Linked DNA regions of Homo sapiens: regions 2, 3, 4, 5 and 6 are each linked to region 1. The links are contacts of gene promoters, found by promoter capture Hi-C in blood cells and fetal thymus (Javierre and others, 2016). All regions are on one chromosome and are shown on one strand. Each heading gives the region's core, a stretch centred on a gene start or on the middle of the fragment in contact. The rest is flanking DNA. Distances are from core to core; before and after follow the strand shown.

Region 1 (3,775 bases), core at 360-2,859:
AAAGTTTAAAGTCGAATCATAAATACTGTTCCAATCCAATCACTCAGGCCCAGAGCTGGTGGGAGTTCTGGATTGCATTTCCGGCTTCACCAGTATCTCTGTAACTTAGCAGCAAGCTACACCTCCACCAGCCTCGGCTTCCTCTTAGGAGAAATGAGAAAACTGGACCCAATCAGTGTTTCCCAAAAGCATGGTGGGCGTCCAATGCAAGATGTCACAGTGCAAGAGAGGACTCTGTGTGCATGCCAATTAACATGTTTTAGTTATTAGTTTACTCTGTCTGGTGAGTAATGTTAGTTTTCCTAATAAATAAGATTTCCTTTTAAAATAAATGCATCCAAATATTTTTAAAAATGAGTCACTTTCACAAAAACCTATTTAGTAAATAAGAGTTCAGGTGATTCTAGCAGCCGTGGCAAAAATAACTGATCTAGAGGCCTGGCGTGGCGTGAAATCCCTGAGTACAGGGGGAGGAAGAGAGCGAAGGCGGCTGGAGTTCCTCGCAAAGAAGCAAGCCCCGGGCACCAGGGTCCGCAGTGACCAGCCGCCGGTCCTCCACGCTTCCAGAGGAGACGATTTGGAACTGACCCGGGAGGGCCAAGAAACACCTTCCGAGTACCAGGCTAAACCCCGCCAGGGAGAGAGACCGGGACGAAGGTCCCAGGCTAGTGCGACACCGCAGGTCGGGGTTCCCTGGTTGGAGGAGCGCGGTGGGCTGGGAGGGGCGCGTTGGTGCGCACTGGAACAGGGGTCCCCGGCTTGAGCAGCGCGGTGAGACAGAGTTCCCGCGCTGGAGGGGCGCGGTGAGACAGAGGTCCTGGGCTGGAGAGGTGCGTTGGGGCGCACTGGAACCGGGGTCCCGGGCTTGAGTGGCGCGGTGGGACAGAGTTCCCGGGCTGGAGGGGCGCAGTGGGACAGAAGATCCGGGCTAGAGGGGCGCGGTGGGACGGAGCTCCCGGGATGGACGGGCGCAGTGGGACAAGGGTCCCGGACTGGAGGGGCGCGTTGGGGAGCATTGGAACAGGGGTCCTGAGCAGGAGGGGCGAGGTGGGCTGGGAGGGGCGCGGTAGGGCGCACTGGAACAGGGGTCCTGGGCTGGAAAGACACGTTGGAACAAGGGTCCCGGGCTTGGGCGGCGCGGTGAGACGGAGTTCCCGGGCTGGAGGGGCGCGGTGGGACAGGGGATCCGGGCTGGAGGGGCGCGGCGAGACCGGGGTCCCAGGCTGGAAAGGTGCAAGTCGAGGCTGGAGGACCGGCGGGAGGGAACCGGGAACCCGGCGGAGCTAAGGGGCGCAGAGTGGGGGTGGGGCCGTGCTGCCGGGGGAGCCCCCTCACGCAGGAAGGACCGGGGCCGCGGACCCCACCGCCCCCACACCCCGTCGTCGCGGAGTTCGGGCCGCCCCGGCTGCGCCCGGGCCCTACCTGTCCTCGCTGGCCGTGATCACGCCGTCCTCCTTGGGGATGAGCAGCGCGGCCGTGACGGCGTCCTGGTGCCCCTCGATCTTGCTCAGCAGCACCGGGCGGCTGCTCTGCGGCCTGGAGTGGATTTCGGCCGCCATGTTCGCGCGGCGACTGCTGCGGCCTCCTCGGCAGGCAGCCCATCAGCTGACGCCTGGGCGGGCGGGGGACGCGCCGGTTTCCCTTCGGCTGCTGGGGCCTCTTGGGCGCCGCGCCGCCGTAAGCCCCCGAGTGCTGCCGCCGCACCGCCCGTATTGCCTGGGGATGCCGCGCAAGCTGAAAGTCTGTGGCTGGGAGAGGATGCCACGGGGCGCCTGCGGAGAAATGGGGAAAGTAAGGAAGGTTTAAAAGTAAAGCCATTCACCCAGGAATAAATTGAGCACCTGGAGGGGACAAGGAATTGTCCCCCAAACCAGAGATTTCAGAAATTACAATACTACATTTCATCCATTTGAAGAAGCCATTGTTTGAAAGGCACACACTTTCAGAAATGTTAAAATGTGAAAAAATATAGTGCATCTTAGAATCTTTGAACTACAATAGATAGCACTGAGTGGTGACCATATACCAGGCATTAACTCAGTGTCTTTGCATCTCATTTAATACTGATAATTTTAAGAGATGAAATAGATGCTCTTGTATTCCCATTTTAGAGATGAGAAAACAACCAGAGAAGTTTGATCACTACCTTAAGGTTGCACAGCTATGAGAGGGAGAAAAGCAGCCCTTGATCTCCAGGAGCTGCCTGGTACTATCAGCTGAGCTTTGGTGTTGCTAGGAAGTGTTTGCTTCCTGTGGAACATAAACATCAGACGAGGCCACTCCATAATCACATCTAAACACGGCCAAAATATGAGCGATGTACAAGCCACAGAAATTACCAAACATCCCCCTATCCTGGCTAATATGAGTGACTCTTATTTCTTTATTAATTATAATGTTAACCGCTATCTAGTCTTCCTCCATTTAGATAAGATTTATTAAGATATGCAACCTTAGAATTATACGCATTTCCTGACAACATCCAGTCCACAGGAGAGCCTCTCTTCCTTAAGCTCTCCCAGGTCACCTAACACAAACACAAATCCTATAATAAAACTGTCCGAACATCCCTTTACCCAGACACCTCACCATTCCCAATGGTGTGTCTTCTCCCTCCAACAAGCAATCAACCCCATTTGTTCCTGGTGGTTTTTGGCTAGAGGTCATTGACAACCAGTAAGTTCAAGAGCCAAAATTTGGACTCAGGAAGTCAATGACTCCAAACTTCTGCCCCACTATATTATTCTGACACCTGAATTGCAGAATTGCATTAGAACCGTACTATCCACATGACTATAGAGCACTTGAAATGTGGCTTGTCCAAACTGAGATGTAGTACAAGTGCAAAATACTACAAGATTTTATAGACTTAGCACAAAACAAAAAAGATGTAATATAGTTCATCAATAATTGTTACAATGATTACATGTTGAAATGATACTATTTTGGATATATTGAGTTAGATACTATTAAAATTAATATGACCTGCTTATTTTTTTAAGGTAGCTAATAAAAACTTTAAATTATGGATGTGAATCAGATGGTACTTCTATGTACAGTGATTTACTAGAACTTTCTTTTTGTTTTTGTTTTGTTTTGTTTTAGTTTTTTGAGACGAACTCACTCCGTCACCCAGGCTGGAGTGCAGTGGTGCGATCTCGGTTTACGGCAACCTCCGCCTCCCAGGTTAAAGGGATTCACCTGTCTCAGCTTCCCGAGTAGCTGGGATTACAAGCACCTACCACCATGCCTGGCTAATTTTGTATTTTTACTAGAGACAGGGTTTCACCATGTTGACCAGGCTGGTCTCAAACTTCTGCCCTCAAATCATCTGCCCACCTCAGCCTCCCAAAATGCTGGGATTACGGGCAGGAGCCACCATTGTACTAATACTTTCTCATGATGAAGTTATTAACAAACATTCATGAATTTATTTATTCCTATATTCAACAGACATATATCGCACACTTACTATATGCTGTTGCTGATGAGATTAATAAGACATGGTTTTTGTGAGGCTGTACAGTGTAATGACTAGACACGCTACTGAACAACTTTGTTTAATCAACCAACATCTCCCAAGTGCCTGCTGTGAGCCAGGTGCCATTCTAAATGCAGCAGTGCTCAAGAGAGACAAAAATCCCTCTGCTGTTAGAACTTACATCCCAGTGAAGGAAACAGATAGTAAACTAAATTATATAATATATTAGAAGATGTTCAATGCTATTAAATGCTATGGAGAAAATAAAGCAGGGAAGGGTGATAGGGACTCTAG
Region 2 (3,775 bases), core at 489-2,988, 980 kb after region 1:
TTTTGACTTTGAAAATTGCACTGCCCGGTGTTGAAAGTCTAACTGTTCAAGTGTAAGGTCTGCTTCTTATTCGTATTGGTGTCCTGGATATAAACAGCTTAGATCACCAAAGGTGGTCCATGAAGGTAAATTGAAATAGAGTTTTACTGGTGTGGACAAAATTGAAGTATAGTTGATAGGTGGTCTTCCTACACAGTGTACAGTCTTACCAGCTTTCAGACATCAGAACTTTCTTATTTATGGTTTTGTACTTCCCAGAAATGATCCCATCTCAGGCTTTCTACATCTTTTGCTCAGGAAGAAACTCATTTCTGACTTTCTCAACTTTTTTTCTGCTATTTTGCATCAGTCTTTTCTTAAACTGAATCATTTGACAATATGATTCAATGTGTCCTTGAAACCATTTTTCTTAGCCCTTGCTTTCTTTTCTTACTTTCTTTGCCACTTTACTGAGTCACACACTTTGGTGACTAAGTTCTTTATTTTTTGTTTTGTTTTAAAGTTTCTATTACTACCAGCTTGAAAAAGAAAGATGAAAAAAAGTAGCAAATACAATTATTGAAGCAGTACAAGTTTTTGCAATGAATGGCTTAATAAATACATCAATACTGCTTATTTTAGTGAATCATTAGGACACATGTAGTGCAGGAGTTCATACTGCTTAGTCCCAGAACCCACATACAAGGAGGACTAGCTTCTACCTGGTGTGCCAAAATAAAGGAAAGTGCTTCTGTGTCAGGCCCTCAACCTGGAAGAAAACTATTTTAATTCAATGTTTGATAATCTATTGAATGCCTATGAATCAGACATTGTGTTGGGTACTTGAAGTACAGATATGAACTGATTTGTCCCTTGTCTAGTAACAGAAAGGAAGTGAATGAGTAAGTGAAGAAGTACACTAAAGTGTTAGAGGGCTGGGTGCAGTGGCTCACGCCTGTAATCCCAGCACTTTGAGAGGCCAAGTTTGAGGCTGCAGTGACTTCCCACTACACTCCAGCCTGGATAACAGAGCGAGACTCCATCTCTTTAAAAAAAAGTGTTAAAAGGAGGAAACTAAGCTTTGCTGATATCAGCTATGAGCCAGGCACTATGTTAGAAGGAATGGGCCTCTTTAAAAAGGGAAACGTGTTCTTAGTGCTGTTTTTTAAGGTGATATGTTGAGTTGAGTTGTGCCAAAGCAGGAAGTATTTTCCTTACCATCAAGCAAAGCCAATTACTTCATCCTCTTTGTTCTCAAGAATTTTGTTTCAGAAAAGCCTTTTGGTTCCTCAAGGTACTCAAGGGATCAACATTATGTTATAAAATAGCAATCTAGATGTTTCTGAAAGATAATTCATGAAATAAATATTTATTTTCCATCTGCTTTGTGCCAAGTTCTGCTTTAGCTGCTGAAAATCTTTCAACAATCAAGACAGAAGAAGTCTCTGTCCTGCTAGAGGCTACTGTCTAACAGTGAGAAACAAGTGACAGAGGAGTGAAAAAGCAAACCAAGATATTTCCCAGTGGTGATAAGTGTTATCAAGAGAAGCAGGTGGGGTCATGTTATAAAGTAACTGGGTGTGAGGGCAATGTAGCTTGGAAGTCAGGGATGCTTCTTTGTAGAGGTGACATTTAAACTGAGTTGTGACTGAAAAATAGGAACCAGCTATACAGAGAGTGTAAAGGCCCTACCGAGAGGATGAGCTTGGCAAGTTGGGGGAACAGAAAGAATGCTTGATGTCTGTGCAGTGACTGAGGAAAGTAGGCTAGATGAGAGCTCAGAGAACATGGGGAACCAGATGACAGGGGTTATGGGAGGAGCTGGATTTGACTCTTAAGGCAATGGGAAGCCACTGAGAAGTTTTAACCAGAGGCATGGCGTTATCTAATTTGTGTTCCTAACAGCTTCCATTGAGTACTGTGTGTGAACGAATCAAAGCGGAGCAAAGAAGAAAGCAGGAGGACCAGTTACAAAACCACTTCTTGGAGGGGAGGTATGGTCCAGGCAAATGAGGGTATTTGTGGCTTGGGACAGCAGAGTGAATAGAGAAAAACTTTTAATATATACAGTCACAATATAAGAATACTGCCTTGGTGAAAAGTAATCTTTCTCGTGTACCAGATACCAGACGAAGTCTCTGATTCTCGGTATTTCTTAACCATAAGCATTCTAAATCAACTTGCTTTTTCATCCATAAAAGGGCATGAGCTCCTTAAACACAGGGCTTTTGCTTTTCTTGTCAGTCTCACTAGTCTAGGAAGTGCTGTTCTATATTCAGCAGCTCGTGGGTGCTGAATAAATATTGATTAAACAAACCGAGTAATGAATCATGTGTGCTGCAAGTGTGGGTGCTTGGTAACGTGGAAACATACAAGTGAGCTGGATTCTCCAATCTGCAGGGCAGAAACTGGATGAAAGACATTTAGAGGTGGGGGTGGGAAGCTTGGAGCGGCCCCTCTCCTTCCATCCCTCAATGCCTTGGGATTGGGGTGGTCATTCTATGACCACTTCACATTGACTCCGTGGAGATTGACTCCACACACCCCAGAGGAGCCTCACCCACTGCTGAAGGGAGAGCTGATGAAATGACATGCTTGCTGACTGCATGGACACTTCCTGTTGGTGCGCCACGTCCCTAAAATGTGACATAGGCTGTGGGTGAAGCAGGTAACATCAGAGATTTACAGACACGCCTATATTCCACAAAGAGTGTGAGGATAAAAACCAAAAATGCATGCAGTTGTACTCTATGTCAGCCAACTTTTTCTGTAAAGCGTCAAAGAATAAATCTTTTCCGGCTGAATGTCTCTGTTGCTTCTACTGCAACTCTGTTGCAACCCTGCCTTTACATCATGAAAGCAGCCACTGACAAGAGGTCAAGGAATGGTGTCCGTGTTCAATAAAACTTTCTTTATGGGTATCAGAATTTGAATTTCAGATAATTTTAATGTGTTTTGAAATATCATCTTTTTTTCCCTAAGCTATTTTAACAACCATAAAAACCATTCTTAGCTCATGGGACATAAAAAATAGGCAGCAGGTCACCCATGGGCGACAGTTTGCCAAGCTGTACTCTGTAGAGCAGTTAAAATGAGGAACAATCTCCACTATTATTCAAAAATAGGCAATTTTATGTAGAGATAATATCTAACACTATCCTTTTGTTTGTCAGTTGCTTAATGCAAATTAAAATTTAGCCATTTGGAGGATGTGACATTTGCTGATAGTAAGGATTAGGTAGCATTGAAAATCTCTTGGGCAGAGATTAATTGGAAATGATTCTTTGGATCACACTCCCCACTTTGTCTAGGCCTTGTTTTGTGTTTTCCACACAGAGCCCAGATGAACTTTTAATATTTAGGAATCCACACTCAGTCATTTGTTTTCCTTCTTGAAACACTCCTGTGACTTGCCCTTGCCTATAGTTAGAATAAGATGCAAACGCCTTATCCTGTCCAGCCATACCAATCTCCAATCTTGGAGCTCTTCAGGGCCTTTGCACCAGCTACCCCTTTAGCCTGAAACATGCTTTCCCCAGCATGGCTGATCCTTCTTGAGAACTCAGAACTCAGCTTAAATGTCGCCTTCTTAGAGAGGCTTGTCCCTGGTCACCTAGACCAACACAGCTCTTACCCTACTCAGATTCTATCATCAGATTCTGCCTAGTTTTATTTTCCTCATAGAATTGGTCTTTATCTGAATTATCTGGTAAATTAATTGGTTTACCTTTTTGTTTGGAATAAGTAAATCTTTAATAAGTAAACCCACCAAAAGGTAAGCTCCCTTAGAACCCCA
Region 3 (3,775 bases), core at 814-3,313, 970 kb before region 1:
ACAACATAATAGAAGGGATATATATATATATTCCTTCTACAAATATAAATTGTAATATATATTTAAATTGTTATATATATATATATATATATATATATATATATATATATATATATTTAGGGCTAAGAAAGACATGACTTTGAATAGTAACCCAGTACCATTTTCTATCTATCTATCTATCTATCTATCTATCTATCATCTATTTATCATCTATTCTATCATAGTGATAAATATACATAACATAAAGTTTACCATTTTAACCTTTTTTTGAGTGTACAATTTAGTGGCAGTAAATACATTCTCAATGTTATGCAATCATTGCCACTATCCGTTTCAAGAACTTTGGCATCACCCCAAACTGAAACTCCACACCCGTTAAACACTAACTCACCATTCCTCCCTCCCCACAGCTCCTAGTAGCCTCTATTCTACTTCTCTTCTCCATTAATTTGCCTATTCTAGGTACCTCAGTGGAATAATGCAATATTTGTCCTTTTGTGTTTGGCTTATTTCGTTTAGCATACACACTTTGAAGGTTTATTCATGTTGTAGCTTACATCAGAATTTCATTCCTTTTTAAGGCCTAAAAATAATACATTTTCTGGGTGCTGTGGCTCATACCTATATTCCCAGTACTCTGGGAGGCCGAGGCAGGAGGATCACTTGAGCCCAAGAGTTTGAGATCAGCCTGGCAACATAGAGAGATCCCATCTCTACAAAAAAGTTTTGAAAATTAGCCAGGCATAGTGGTGTGTTCCTGTGGTCCCAGTTATTCGGGAGGCTGAGGCAGGAGGATCACTAGAGCCCGGGAAGTTGATGCTGCAGTGAGCCATGATTGTACCATTGCAGTCCCACCTGGGTGACAGAGCAAGACCCTGTCTCGAAAACAAGACAAAACAAAACAAAACATTGTATGTTTATCCCACATTTTGTATATTCATTAATCTGTCCATTGGTATTTGGGTTATTTCTACCTCTGGGTTATTGTGAATATGATGTTATGAACATTAGTGTACTAATATCTGTTGGAGTTTGTGCTTTCACTCTTAAGTATATATTCAGAAGTGAAATTACTGGATCGTATGGTAGTTTTATGTTTAACTTTTTGAGGAAACACCCAACTGTTTTTCACAGCATCAGCACACCATTTTACAGATCAGGAAAATGAGGTTCAGAGAGGTTAAACTACTAGCTCAGGATCGCATAGCTGGCCTCTAATGAGGATTATTAAATTTAGGTTTGTAAACAGCCTTCCATTTAGAGCTGGAATTCCCCTGTTCTATCCTATTTAATGAGCCATTCAAATCAAGATAGCTTTCTGTTGATGAGACTGGCTTTTCAAAAAGGCACAACTAGATTATAATCCAGAATGGGGAGGAAATAATGCTTTATTTTTTGTTTTGTGGCTGGATAGTGCATTCCATAAATGGGCTTTCAATCAATCTTTACTCTCTTCCCTTCCCTTTCTGATGCTAATTCATACATACTGGTCTAAAGTTTAAATTTACTTATGAGTCCACACTCTTTCTTCCATTTTCTTAACATATTACAAAAGCAAACAATCTCTTTGATCTTGGCTAAAATGATTCTAGAACTTTCTCACACCTCAGAAGTGCATGCTTCTTTCAAACAAACCATGTGCTGGTTACAAATCATGGCTCTTTGTCCACCGTCTTTCCCCAGGCAAGCTTGGGTGGCTGTAGTTAATATAGTTCGAGGGTCTTGAGGTAGTGGAATTGCTGTACGAACCCTTGGAGTGTAGAATTTTCACAATGAAGATGGATCTGGCCATTTTCCCCTCTTCAATCCCAAACACACAGGATGGAATCAGTGAGTTGACACTATGCATGGGTAGGCCGAGTAGGAGGGAAATTGTAAGGTGTGTGCAGTGGAATTTGGAGGGTCAGGTGGCCTTTCTTGTCCCAGACCTGCCTTCCCCACTAGGTGACTAGCGGCCTTTGTCTGCCCTCATTCTCCACCTCCTGCCTGTAGGTTGGCTGTTGGTCATTCGGGTCGGTATGACTGGACATTAGTGCTCCTCTCCCAGGAGTGTTTACATCTAAAACCTGAGTTCTGACAGTGGAATAAAAGGCATATTACAGAGGGCCCACCGGACTAGGGGGTGGTGTGCTGGCCTCACATGGTGCTGCTGAAATCATGCCTCCTAGGACAGCCCCTTTAGATACTGAAGACTCATCTTACCTGCTCAGTTTCCTGATTCAGAGAGTGAACTAGATGCTGCTGCTAAGGGAAAGACACTCTGGGAGAAGCCAAACCGCAAGGAGCCTTCAGTTCTCTCCTTACTGGGCCAGGAGGAGGAATTTTTTTTTTTTAACTGAAAAAGGGAATTACCAGCTTAAAACACAACCAAGAAGCCTTTAGCATTGAGGACTGGTGAGGAGAGGAGGTATTCATTTTGGTGTGGGGAGGAGACATCAGTAAGCTTTTCTTTCTCGTGTACACACACACACACACACACACACACACACACACGCTGGGACGTAAAAGACGTTTCAGTAGGTGTCATTCCCAAGCTGTCCACAAGATGGTGCAGAAACCCTGCTCACAGTCTGTCCTCCAAAGGCACCACCTCTGGAGTGATTTGCAGCCTCTGCAGGCTGCTGGTAAATTGAGGTTTGGAGAGCAGCATGAAGCTTTCACCGCGGTGAAGATACCTTTGACATTTTCGGGATTCTGATTGTAAATTCAATTAAAAATCGATTGGGTTCCAGTAAACAAAATGAAATGACAAATGTGTACAAAAGCTCCTTGTGCAGGGCTTAGCCTGGAAGAGAGATGGAGGTCATATAGGAAGGCGTGGAAGGAGACCTGGATAAGCTGCTGTGGGTGATACGACACCTCCTGTTCCTGGGGAATCTTGAAGTCTGCGGGGGGTTCAGCTGTGCATCGCTGGGCATTTACCGTGGATGGCACTCGTCTGCATGCTGTGGAGACAGTCATACGGAAGAGTCCCGGTCTTTAGAGAGCTTGAATCTGTCAAAAACTCATACCAGAAAAATAACGAGTGTGCCAGATGGTGGTCAGCACTACGGGAAAGATATTACAGCCGACCACTGGAGGTGCAGGGTTTCACTTTTAAATAGCGTGGCATCGGAGACCTCTTGGAGCCAGTGACATTTCAATAAGACCTGAAGGATTGATGGTGTGAGCCACGGGAGTTTTAGGGGAAGACCATTCTAGGCAGTGGGCACAGCAAAGGCAATGGTCCTGGGGTCGGGAGGTGCCTGGAGGAGGCATGGAGGACCCAGGAGGCTGATGTGGCTGCTGGGGCAGGTGAAGGGGCAGGGCAGGATATGAGTCAGAGAGATTCTAATGGGGGAAAAGCCGGAGATTTCGAAGCTGAGTGATCACACGAGACCTTGCAGCACAGTATAAGGACTTTCGACTTTACTTTGGAAATTGCTGGAAGCCATTGAGCGTTCTGAATAGAGGCGTGGCATGATCTGCCTTGCATTTTGTAAGGATCACTCCGGCTCTTGCATTGAGAAGGTCCTACAGGCAGGAGCCGAAAGACCAGTTAGGAGACAGCTGCCATGTCTGGGTGAGAGATGGTGGTGACCAGGCCCAAAGGGAATGACAGTGGAAGTGAAGAGAAGTGGTCAGATTTAGGATATCTTTGGAGCCAGTAGAGTTGATGGTAGATTGAATGAAAATTTGAGAGGCAGAGAGGGGTCACGGATGACTTTGAGGTTATTTCCCTGAGCAATTGGGCAGATGGAATGGCAATTAACTGAGATAATTTGGAAGGGCAGGT
Region 4 (3,775 bases), core at 775-3,274, 700 kb after region 1:
TTTTCTTTCCACACTTTCTAATTTCCTTTTGTTTTCTTACTCTTATCTTCCTAAAGCTAGGAATATGATAGTGAGTTTATCACTTCATTCAAAAAATATATACTGAGCATTGTTTTCTTACTGGTTTTTTTAAATCTTCCCTAAAGCTAGGAATATGATGGTAAGTTTATAATTTCATTCTTTCATTTAGCAAATATTTATTGAGCAACTATTCTGTTCCAGGCCTGGTTCTAGGTTCTGAGGTCATAGCTCTGAACAACATCTGTGTTCTCATGGAGATTACATTCTAGCAGAAGGCTAACAAGAAACCAGCAAGCAAATATGTATACTAGAGAATTTCAGACAGTTCTCAGTGTGAAGGAAACAAAAAGGAACAGGGCAGTGTGAGATGGCAGAGTCATCAGGGATGAGGCAGGGGAGACAATGAAGAAGGGCTACCTTAGAAATTGTGACTGGGAATGAACCTTTAAGGAGGAGACATCAGAAAAGAAATAGGAGGGAAGAGAGAAAACAGCAATAGAAACATGCAGGAAAACAGAGTTGGAGGCAGAGTGTATGCAAGTGAAATGAACTTGGTGTGGTTTGAGGAGCAGGAAGAAGGTCAGGGTTCCTGGTGCTTGACAAACGAGAGCATTTGTGGAGTAAAGATGAAGAAGGAAATTGGGTCTTCTAGGACATGGCAAGAAATTTGAACTTTATTGTAAATGTGACAGGAGGGTTTTGAACATTGGAACCATGTGATTTGATTTATATTTTACAGGGAGTATTCATTTGGCTGTTTGAAAAGGAGACTGGAGAGGTTAAGGTGGCAAGGGAGCATGCAAAAGAATGAGTGAGAGGGCTAATGCGATACTCCTGGTGAGAGGTGACTGTGGTTTGGCCAATGCTTCTAGCAGCTGAGCTGGAGAGAAGAGGATGGATTTGGGATAAATTTTGGAGAGGAGCTGATAGGATCTATCAGATGGATAAAACACAGGAGTGAAAGAACAGAAGGAATAAAGGATGACTTCAGGCTTTTGGCTGAGCATTTGTTGATGGGAAATCCAGGGCGCTCTTAATGTTCCATTGTGTGTTTTAAAAGGGAGCAGTGTCTTGTATTGTACAAGATGCACTCAGTCCTGTATATGCTATTATCAGTGAGAAACAAGACTGGGCTATAGATTTGTTGGTATTAGAGAAGAGAGGTTGATTACTTCTTGAATCCTCTAGGATTTTTCCTTTATGGATACATGTGTTGGACTACTTTGTAAGTTTTGCTTCAATTATCCTCCAACTGTCCCATTTTCCTACTCTACTCGTGGCTCCCACTTCTGCTTCTTCTGCACCTCAGTAGAACAGGAGCAGCCTCCCAGGGCATGGCAAGTTCATTTGGCTTGGCATGGGCCCTGGACAATGGGTCTTGCCTTCAGGTGGTGTGACTTCTTGGCTTGGTGAATAGAAAATGCCATCCTAGGCCGGGCGTGGTGGCTGACACCAGTAATTCCAGCGCTTTGGGAGGCCGAGGCTGTCGGATCACCTGAGGTTAGGAGTTCGAGACCAGCCTGGCCAACATGGTGAAACACCATCTCTACTAAAAATACAAAGATTAGCCAGGCATGGTGGTGCACATCTGTAATCTCAGCTACTCGGGAGGCTGAGGCACGAGAATCACTTGAACCCTGGAAGCAGAGGTTGCAGTGAGCCAAGATGGCACTACTGCACTGCAGCCTGGGCGACAGCAAGATTCTGTCTCAAAAAACAAACAAACAAAAAATGCCATCCTGGCTGCCTGTGCTGATCCTGAACAAGGTTTGGGGGCTAGAGCAGAGCAGACCCCTACGCATGTCTCCTTTGGTTTAGGGTCTTTGGGGAAGGGATGCTGCAGCCATTGGTGATTGGTGGTACCGAAACCCCAGCCTAGCGGCTTTGGGCTGACTCTGTGGGAAGCTGGTGTCAACTGTAAAAAGCTTCTCATCTGCAGTGCTTTGACAAGTACTTTCAGGAGAGTTTCTTAATTCTCTGAGCTCTAATTCCCTCATCTGAAAGGCAGAGTAGTAATAATTATGGCTTCTTAGAGTTTTTATGAGAATTGACTTAATTTCAGAGGCAGTAAACAGCCCAGGTAAGCTTGGCTTCGAGTGTGGAGTCAGGCCTTTCAATTCCTTTCCATCTGGAATTTTGGGTGGTGGGACATGGGAACAAGTTTCTTACCCTCTCTGTGCCTCAGTTTCCTTATTCCCAATAAGAGAATAATAATGGTACCTTCTTGTTATGGTTGCTGTGAGAATTGGATGAAATATTTTATGGGAAATGCTTTAAACTGTGACTGGTATTTGATTATAGCACTTAAAAAATACCTGTTGAGGCCGGGCGCAGTGGCTTACGCCTGTAATCCCAGCACTTTGGGAGGCTGAGGCGGGCAGATCATGAGGTCAGGAGATCAAGACAATCCCGGCTAACACGGTGCAACCCCATCTCTACTAACAATACCAAAAAAAAAAAAAAAAAAATTTAGCCAGGCTTGGTGGCAGGCGCCTGTAGTCCCAGCTACTTGGGAGGCTGAGGCAGGAGAATGGTGTGAACCCAGGAGGTGGAGTTTGCAGTGAGCCAAGTACACGCCACTGCACTCCAGCTTGGGTGACAGAGCGAGACTCCATCTCAAAAAAAAAAAAAAGCTGTTGATAAAAGAGGCCCTTGATGAATGTCTATTATTTAAATAATTACGTCCATGAAAAGTACTTTAACAGCATTAAAAAGTTAGTTATTGTGGGGCTGGGCGTGGTGGCTCACAGCTGTAATCCCAGCACCTTGGGAGGCGGAGGCAGGCAGATCACAAGGTCAGGAGTTCGAGACCATCCTGGCCAACATGATGAAACCCCTTCTCTACTAAAAATACAAAAATTACCCGGGCGTGGTGGCGCACGCCTGTAGTCCCAGCTACTTGGGAGGCTGAGGCACAATAATCACTTGAACCCGGGACGCGGAGGTTGCAGTGAGCAAAGATCGCGCCACTACACTCCAGTCTGGTGACAGAGCGAGTGAGATTCAGTCTAAAAGAAAAAAAAGTTATTGTGTTAAATTTTATTACATCCTCCATTATCCTTGCTGATTTTGTGTTCCAGAAATAATTACAACATTATCACACAAATCTAATCTCTGGGATCTAAATGAGAGGATCACACACTCAGATGGCTACAGGGGCGAGACAGGTCACACAAATAAATGAGGGTGCAAGCTCTGCGATGAAGGGTCCACAATCAGAATCAGATCTGTTAAAATAGGCTATGGCCAACTATTTCAATACCAGCAGTATCACTTGCAGATTCTTTCAGAGAAGCTGGAAATCTGAAATTTTTATTAATAGATGAGATTTCTGGGTTTATTAATGTTAGCAGTTTAACCAAAGAGTTTAGAAACACCTTGTTGGCTAAAGAAATGTATGTTTCAGGGGAGTGGCCTTGACCCACAGACCACCAGTTTAGAAATGCTGATCTAGACTACTGCAGATTAGTTTGTGAGACCAGCCAGAAATAGGATCCAGAAAGGTCAATATACATGGGAGAATGGTTAGAGCACCAGGAACCACTGGAGTGACAGGCTCAGGTGGGTGGATCCTCAGAAGCTGCTCTGGGGCAGGAGAAAGACTGGACTTGGGAGCAAGAAGGATGCTGAAAAGATGAAGCCCGTGACCGAAGGTGACCTGGGCATACTTGACAAGCTAATCTAGGGCTGGCCCCAATGCCACAGATATCTGTATTTTGAATACAGGTTGTTTTTACTTCCTTGGCAATCAGGT
Region 5 (3,775 bases), core at 567-3,066, 620 kb after region 1:
TCATCTGTTTTACTGGCTCTTAATTATCACCTAAACCTCCAATCCTAAAGCTCAAGTTCTCGATTTCTTATCTAGCCACACTCAGTTTTTGTTTTTTGTTTTTTTTTAGTCACACTCATTTTCTAGGTGGAGTTGATCTATTCTCATGGTTTTAAATCAATCTTAAAATTGATACATTCTCTGGCCCCCTCTGTACATGCCAGAGTCATATATCCAGCTACCTACTCAATGTTTCCACTTTAATGCGTAGTAGGCATCTCAAACTTACCAAGCCTGAAACAGAACTCCTCATCTTTTCCCTCAGTTGGTTTCCCCTGAAGTCTTTTCCAGCTGAACAAATGTCCACTCCATCCTTCCAGCTGCTCCGGCCAAAATGCTTGTGATCATAATTAACTACTCTCTGACCCCACTACTACTCCAACAGAAAATGCTGTTGTCTCTAACTTCAAAATGTATCCCCAGAATTCAACTCTTTCTCACCACTTCCACTGCTACTATCCTGGTAAAACCACCACCACCTCCAACTGGTCTCCATCTCCACTCCTGGCCTGCTATCATCAGGCAACCAGGGTGACCATGTAAAAGCATAAATCAAATCATGTCACTCATTTGCTCACAACTCTCAAATGAGTTCTCATTTCCCCTGGAGTTGAAGTCAAAGTCCTTACAATGTTCTATAAGCTTTATTCGATCTGATAATCTCTCAACTTCATCCATTTTTTCCTTTTGTTCGCTCTGCTCCATGCACTCCCTGGCATACATCAAACAAGCTGATTTCAGTGTCTTCGTATTTGCTATTCTTTCTGTCTGAAATGTTCTTCCCTCAGTTTCCTGCATGGCTCAAACCTCTACTCAACTGTCATCTTACAGTGAAGTTTTAAATGCCCACCTTATTTACAGTAACAGCCTCACCTCACTACTGATCCCCAACTCCAACCCACATTCTTCATTATTTTCCTGGTCTCCCTCTCTACAACCAAATGTCAGCTTCATGAAGGCAGGGATCTTTTTTTCACTGCCAAATTCCTCAGCCTCTAAAACAGTATATGGCACATAACAAGGATTCATACTTCGGTGACTGATTTTCTGCTAATATATGACTAATGACCCCTTTGTAAATGCCACATAAAATCTCCAAGTTCTGCATTTACAACCTAAGCAACATTGATCAGCTTCACACAAACTTCTGATCTGAACTGGATAAAAATTACTGAGTTAGTGGAATCCTCTCCAAGTCACGTCTGATGTGTATGAATGTGAAAAGAGGAAGGAGTAGGCAAAATAGTTATTTTAGTCACCCTGGCAGTAAAATACCAGCTCAACTCTCAATCAAGACGATCCTTAAGCAAATGACTCAAACTGAATCTTGTTATTCTGATCTTTTCTGAAGAGCTTGAGAAGGAACTTTAACAGAACAATTTCTTTTCTTTTACCGAAATCCTATCCAAGACCTAAGTCTGTCAGAGACTTTTATCAAATGACTGTAAAAGAATTTACCCCTACACCTATACTGCTACCTCTTTTTAATCAGATATCCTGATAGGATGTCATCCATATAAAATGTACTGATGCGGCTAACTTTTCACAAACAGAAGATTCAAGGCCATGTAATAATGATGGCCTCAAATACCATAGCTACGTACGTGCAATGTGGTTTTAGTTTGTTGACTACATATGCTGAGGTTCTAATAAAGCAAACTAAGACACTATCTCTTGACATTGAGTAACAAATAGATAAAGCAAAATACTCAGAACAATTTCAAAAAAGAGAAAAGTTAATGTCAACTATAAGCCTCAAAGATACCTATACTGCTAATAGCTGAGCAAAACATCAAATCATCTTTACAGGCTCTATAACCTAAGATCCTCTGAAAGCCAGAAAAAGTATTAAAATGTCTCTACCCAGAGTAAATTACTAAATTTTTCTACTAGAAGCTGAAGAATTTTAAAACTATAAAACCAAGAGGCTTCAAACATTGTAAAAGTACTCTCACATTATTATAACATAACCATTTTCACATATATACATCAAGAGCTGTTTTACTACACAAGGTTGTATGTAGTGCGTTTTTTTTTTCTTTTTAAATTAATGCCTTATTGATAGATAAAAGATGGGGCTGCAGGAAAAAATGTTCCTTCTGGTGATAGCTAAGGTTAAAAATTTTTCTAACAAATGAGAAGAAGAGCCAGGCACAGTGGCTCCCGCCTGTAATCCCACCACTTTGGGAAGCCAAGGTGGACAGATCACTTGAGGTTGGGAGTTCGAGACCAGCCTAGCCAACATGGTGAAACCCCATCCCTACTAAAAATACAAAAAATAGCCGGATGTGGTGGTGCGTGCCTGTAATCCCAGCTACAGGGGAAGCTAAGGCAGGAAAATCGCTTGAACCCGGGAGGTAGAGGCTGAAGTAAGGCGAGATCGCGCCAGCCCACTCCAGCCTAGGCAACAGAGCAAGACTTTGTCTCAAAAAAAAAAAAAAAAAGACGACGACAATGAAAAATAGACCCAGAGAGATTAAATGACTTACCCAAAATCATAGAGCTGGGATTAGAACTTATATATCCCAAAACCTAGTCCAAATCAGTGGACTAATGTCACATTCCATTGTGCTAATATGGTAAAGTAACATCACAGTCACTGATTATCTTGGTAAACATAGTTAGTATACTGGTAGAGAACATGGGTTTTGCTGTCAGACAGCCTTAGGTTTGTGCCACAGCTTTGTTACTCACAAGCCATGTGACCTTGAGAAAATTAAGTCCTGGGTTCAATAACAGCATCTATCTCAAAGGGCTGTCATGAAGATTAAATGAGAACGTCAGTAGATTTAACACAGCCCAGAGCACAGTATAATCCCTCATGCATCAACAAAGGAAAGTGCCCAATGATAGAATCTCTTGAACGCTCATCGACAGTCATCAAATAAATGTCAGAAAGAAATATAGCTTTTTCAAGCTTAGCAAATATACAGATATGAGCTAAAACAAAGGCACCTTAAGAATAACACTATGATAAATGCACCTCAGTATAACGTAGCTTTCTTTTAGAAAACATTATTCCCCTACATCTCTTGTATACTACTTTTCCAGAGCCATTTAAATCATTTTCACCCTGAGAACTCTGTCCTTGGCTCTTGTCACTCTCTACTGGGTCTCTATGTATTTTCATTCATTGTCATGGTTACATCTATTATCCGTACATGCAGGGTTCTAAAACTTAAGAGGGATTCCAGAGGTTCCTAAAACAATAAACAAAACTTTCCAAGTATACTGTGTGTGCACTTCTTTTCTGGAGAGTAGGTCCCTAATTTCTATCAGATTTCCTAAGTTTGTCCATATCTTAAAGAAGATAAACTACAACAGTCCTCCTATCTACAGTTTCACCTTCCTTGGTTTAAGTTACTAGCAACCAACCACTGCCTGAAAATATTAAATAAAAAATTCCAGAAATATCAATTCATAAACTTTAAATTGCATGCCATTTTATGTAGTATGATGAAATCTCATGCCATCCCACTCAGGATGTGAATCCTGAATTACATCTTTGTCCAGCATTTCCACACTATGTTACACACCCCACACCCATTAAAAACTTGGTAACTTAACAGCCATCTGGTTTATCAGATCAAAATCACAATGCTTATGTCCAGGCAATGTTTATCTTACTTAATACTGTCCCCAAACCACAAAAGTAGTGATGCTGACAATTCAGAAATGCCAAAGAGAAGCAATAAAGTGCTTCCTTTAAGTGAAAAGGTGAAAGTTCTCTACTTAA
Region 6 (3,775 bases), core at 817-3,316, 590 kb after region 1:
TAAACACTGATGTAAAACAAGTCATTAACTTATTAATTTTGGAGTGATACAGTAATTAAACTTAATGAATCTAGCGTCATTCTATAGCACCAAATTTTTTTTAACTGGAATTTAATCTCTCTGAAAGTTATTAAACAGCTGAGATCAAAGTCAGTGTTTTCCAAATGATCTTGCTGAACAGGATTTTTTTCTTGACTGATGAAAACAAAATACAGCAATAGCCGGTGAAAAATGGAATATACATGTGAAGAAGCTAATATCCTTAAACAAGACTAGCTGCAATATTGCACTGCAATAATATACTATTAAGAAAAATAGATGGCAGCTATGAGTGTATGATTATCAGAAAAAATAATTGTATTAATATGACATCCTCTCTCACTGAAGATGTAAGAATTAAGGATTTAAAAACTTGTAAGAGAATATTCAGCTTTTGTTTCTCATTGTCATTTAACAACTCTTAAGGAGATGTTAATATGGTTTTTTCCATATTTTCCATTTTAAAGGACAAGTGCTAAATACTAAGAAAAAAATTAAATCATTCCCTTTCAGTTTCTCATTCTAAGCATTCACTAAGTATGTGAACAATTAAGATTTTTATTCATGGCCGGGCACAGTGGCTCACGCCTGTAATCCCAGCACTTTGGGAGGCCGAGGTGGGCAGATCACCAGGTCAGGAGATAGAGACCATCCTGGCTAATGTGGTGAAACCCCGTCTCTACTAAAAAGAAAAATAAAATAAAAATAAAAATAAAAATAGCCGGGCGTGGTGACGGGCACCTGTAGTCCCAGCTCATCAGGAGGCTAAGGCAGGAGAATGGCGTGAACCCGGGAGGCAGAGCTTGCAGTGAGCCGAGATCATGCCACTGCACTCCAGCCTGGGGAACAGAGCGAGACCCCGTCTCAAAATAAATAAATAAATAAATAAATAAATAAATAAATAAATAAATAAATAAATAAATAAAGATTTTTATTCACATAGGCTTCGGTTGGCCCTTACAAAGAAAGTACTGTTCATTTAAAAAACAAAAACCACCTTCCACACTGAGACGTACTATAACTAAGTTAGACAGAAAGTCATTGTGTTTTGAAATGTTTAATTTCTTTTTGAGACGGAGTTTCACTCTGTTGCCCAAGTGAGAGTGCAGTGGCACGATCTTGGCTCACCCCCCGGTTCAAGCGATTCTCCTGCCTCAGCCTCCCAAGTAGCTGGGATTACAGGTGCCCACCACTGCACCTAATTTTTGTATTTTTAGTAGAGACAGGGTTTTGCCACGCTGGCCAGGCTGGTCTCAATGTCCTGACCTTAAATGATATGCCCACCTTGGCCTCCCAAAGTGCTGGGATTACAGGCGTGAGCCACCGTGCCCAGCCTTCAACTTCAAATGCTTAACTGCTTAAAGGAAGAAAACATTTAAAAAGCTCTACTTACCATGTACATTAGTATGTCTCTAATCATCACCATAGCTGTTTGATGATCATTCCAAGCTTGATTTAGCGTTTGAAGAAAGTTGTTATTCAATGAATTTAGTACATCTTCTCGCACCTAGTAACAGAAGAGTTCATTAGTTTGCACACACACATCCACACACTCGTATATACAGGCATGCACATATCTGTTTAATAAAATAATGAAGTGGAATCTTTAATTTAAATCAAAGAAATGTTATAGGCTAGTAGAAATATTTTAAGCTATAACCTATACACAGAAGAGTATCAAATGTATATGTATAGTACAGACTCCTCTTCTGATCTCCAGAACATAAATCAACTTCCTAGGTATTTCCCAACCCTCCAGTGACTTGACATCATTGTCAGAGTAAAATCCTATATTCTTATAGTAAGTTACAAGGGCCTGTAAGACTGGCTTCATGCTACTGCTGAATTTCCTACTACACCTTCCCTTCCCCAACTTTGAATAATGGTTGAGAATACTGATTTTGGAGTCAATTACCTGGGCTCCAATCCCAGCTCCCTAACAAACTGGGTGACCTGGGATAAATATTTAACCTCTGTGCCTCAGTTTCCTTATATGTGAAATAGCATTCTTCTTGTAGGATTGTTTTAAGAACTGAATTAACGCTAGCAATACACTTAAAACAGTGCTTAGTACTCCGTAAACACTCTATAATAAACTACTCAGTACACTTCAGCTACAATGGCCTCTTTACTAAATACAGCAACTGTGCTCTGCCATTCCTTCTGCCTCAATTCACATGGCTCGTCCCACTCACTTTATTTTGCTCAAATTTCATCTCTGGAGAAGTCTTTCCCAACCAATTACTTCAAAGAAAGCCTAGCTCTACTTCTTCACCATACAATTTGTTTTTTGTCATAGCATTCATCATTACCTACTATATTAGTTTATTTGTTTATTGTTTCTTCCACTAAAATGTAAATGTCTCCATGGTGGCAGGATTTCTATCTTTTCCATGTGTATATCCCACACCTAGAATAGTGCTTGGTATATATAACACCATTTATTTCATATCCCTGCCCTCCAATGCCATGATTCACCTCCAACATAAGCACTTTCAGGATTACCTGCTTTTGCACATAAAGTTCCCTTGAGCCTGAAATGTCTTTCCAATCCAACCCTAATAAAAGACTATTCAAGACTTCAAAAATTCCTTTCCACAGTCCACAAGCTTAGTACCATCCTCTCTGATAAAATGTTATTGACCACTACTCTTTCCTGCTATGCTATCTGCCCAAAAGAAAGACCATTTCACTCAGAAACAGAATCTAGACTCTGGTTCTTGTTTTATCACAAAGTCGTCGTGTGTTTGTCTCCAAGTTCCTGTAACACTTTGGGACTATACTGCCAACTTCTACAGTTATTCAAATCCAACCAACCTTCCATAATCCAGCTAAACTCTCAATAACTCTACACTAAACAAAACTTTTTTATCTCCAAATATCCTTTACCATAGAGAATTTCTAATAGTGGTTATGCTTTTTCAGATTGGGAAAAAGCTGAAGTCATGGTGCTTTCTGAGAAACATCAACTATTTAATGTATGTTGAGATATATAGACACCTCTAAAACAATTATAAATACACATAAATAAAATGCCATTCTGTATCAGATCTAATATGAACAAGTGGCTAAAAGTGCCAAAGAAAATACACACAACACACTGTGGAAGAATAAATTCAAACTAAGAAAACAGAATCTTTTCCTACATATTGGGGAAAACGAGGTTATTAGATTTAATGATGAGACAATATATCTAGTCTACTAAATATACAGTATAAAAATCACTAGGCCTGTACCACATAATTTAGAATTTTATCATATATTTAATCTTTTGTTCACAAGACTAAGCTCCATGACTTCAAGTTACATCACCCAGAAATTCCTCCAAAAATGTTAACTATATCAAGTTAGTTAATGGAAATACTTATACAAAATGAATAATGTATCATTTGTTTCAACTCATTAAATCTAGCACTTGTCAGATACAAATCCCAACAAAAACCCAGCAAGCTGAAAACGTGCTTATTTTCAAAATTTTACACCAAGCTTCATATTCCTTTACTGAAGAGTAGCAATTAAATTAAAATCATGACAATGCAAGAGCAATCTACGCTACATACAAAAAAAATACGTATTTCAAACATCAGAATATCAAGCCCATTAATTATTCTTAAGGACTTATATGAACTTCTACATACCGCTATATTATAAAATTAAGTTAAATGTTAACTACATTAAAATCACCCTGAATTTGGAACACGTAAATGTGCCTGCATATTTGTTGAATGAATAAAAA

Evidence for each region. The method cuts DNA at HindIII sites, captures the fragments that hold promoters and counts their contacts. A CHiCAGO score of 5 or more calls a contact.
Region 2: a contact is called between a fragment that was not itself captured here and the fragment with the promoter of WDFY1 in region 1, in 1 of 17 cell types (activated CD4 T cells). The highest score is 5.2, in activated CD4 T cells.
Region 3: a fragment that was not itself captured here is called in contact with the fragment with the promoter of WDFY1 in region 1 in 1 of 17 cell types (M0 macrophages); the score reaches 5.2 in M0 macrophages.
Region 4: a fragment that was not itself captured here is called in contact with the fragment with the promoter of WDFY1 in region 1 in 3 of 17 cell types (total B cells, erythroblasts and fetal thymus); the score reaches 5.7 in total B cells.
Region 5: a contact is called between a fragment that was not itself captured here and the fragment with the promoter of WDFY1 in region 1, in 1 of 17 cell types (neutrophils). The highest score is 7.8, in neutrophils.
Region 6: a contact is called between a fragment that was not itself captured here and the fragment with the promoter of WDFY1 in region 1, in 1 of 17 cell types (neutrophils). The highest score is 5.1, in neutrophils.

The regions. Positions count from the first base shown.
Region 1 is chr2:223,943,726-223,947,500 of GRCh38, forward strand. WDFY1 (WD repeat and FYVE domain containing 1) reads right to left here and starts at 1,610. Exons shown (of 12, transcript NM_020830.5): 1 at 1,423-1,610. The coding sequence starts at 1,559. LOC124907989 (a long non-coding RNA gene) reads left to right here. Exons shown (of 2, transcript XR_007088100.1): 1 at 1-682. RefSeq lists enhancers at 422-541, 552-611 and a silencer at 1,182-1,361. The HindIII fragment of the contact is 5,306 bases long and covers 1-3,775 here.
Region 2 is chr2:224,925,507-224,929,281 of GRCh38, forward strand. The region is part of intron 2 of DOCK10 (dedicator of cytokinesis 10); the gene reads right to left. Among named protein-coding and RNA genes, the nearest start is that of MIR4439, 83 kb to the right of the region's middle. The HindIII fragment of the contact is 1,364 bases long and covers 1,057-2,420 here.
Region 3 is chr2:222,969,343-222,973,117 of GRCh38, forward strand. No RefSeq gene overlaps it. Among named protein-coding and RNA genes, the nearest start is that of ACSL3-AS1, 52 kb to the left of the region's middle. The HindIII fragment of the contact is 755 bases long and covers 1,687-2,441 here.
Region 4 is chr2:224,642,103-224,645,877 of GRCh38, forward strand. The region is part of intron 2 of LOC105373909 (a long non-coding RNA gene); the gene reads left to right. Among named protein-coding and RNA genes, the nearest start is that of CUL3, 59 kb to the left of the region's middle. The HindIII fragment of the contact is 160 bases long and covers 1,945-2,104 here.
Region 5 is chr2:224,560,172-224,563,946 of GRCh38, forward strand. The region is part of intron 1 of CUL3 (cullin 3); the gene reads right to left. Among named protein-coding and RNA genes, the nearest start is that of CUL3, 23 kb to the right of the region's middle. The HindIII fragment of the contact is 2,275 bases long and covers 680-2,954 here.
Region 6 is chr2:224,534,096-224,537,870 of GRCh38, forward strand. CUL3 (cullin 3) reads right to left here. Exons shown (of 16, transcript NM_003590.5): 3 at 1,433-1,546. Among named protein-coding and RNA genes, the nearest start is that of CUL3, 49 kb to the right of the region's middle. The HindIII fragment of the contact is 1,160 bases long and covers 1,487-2,646 here.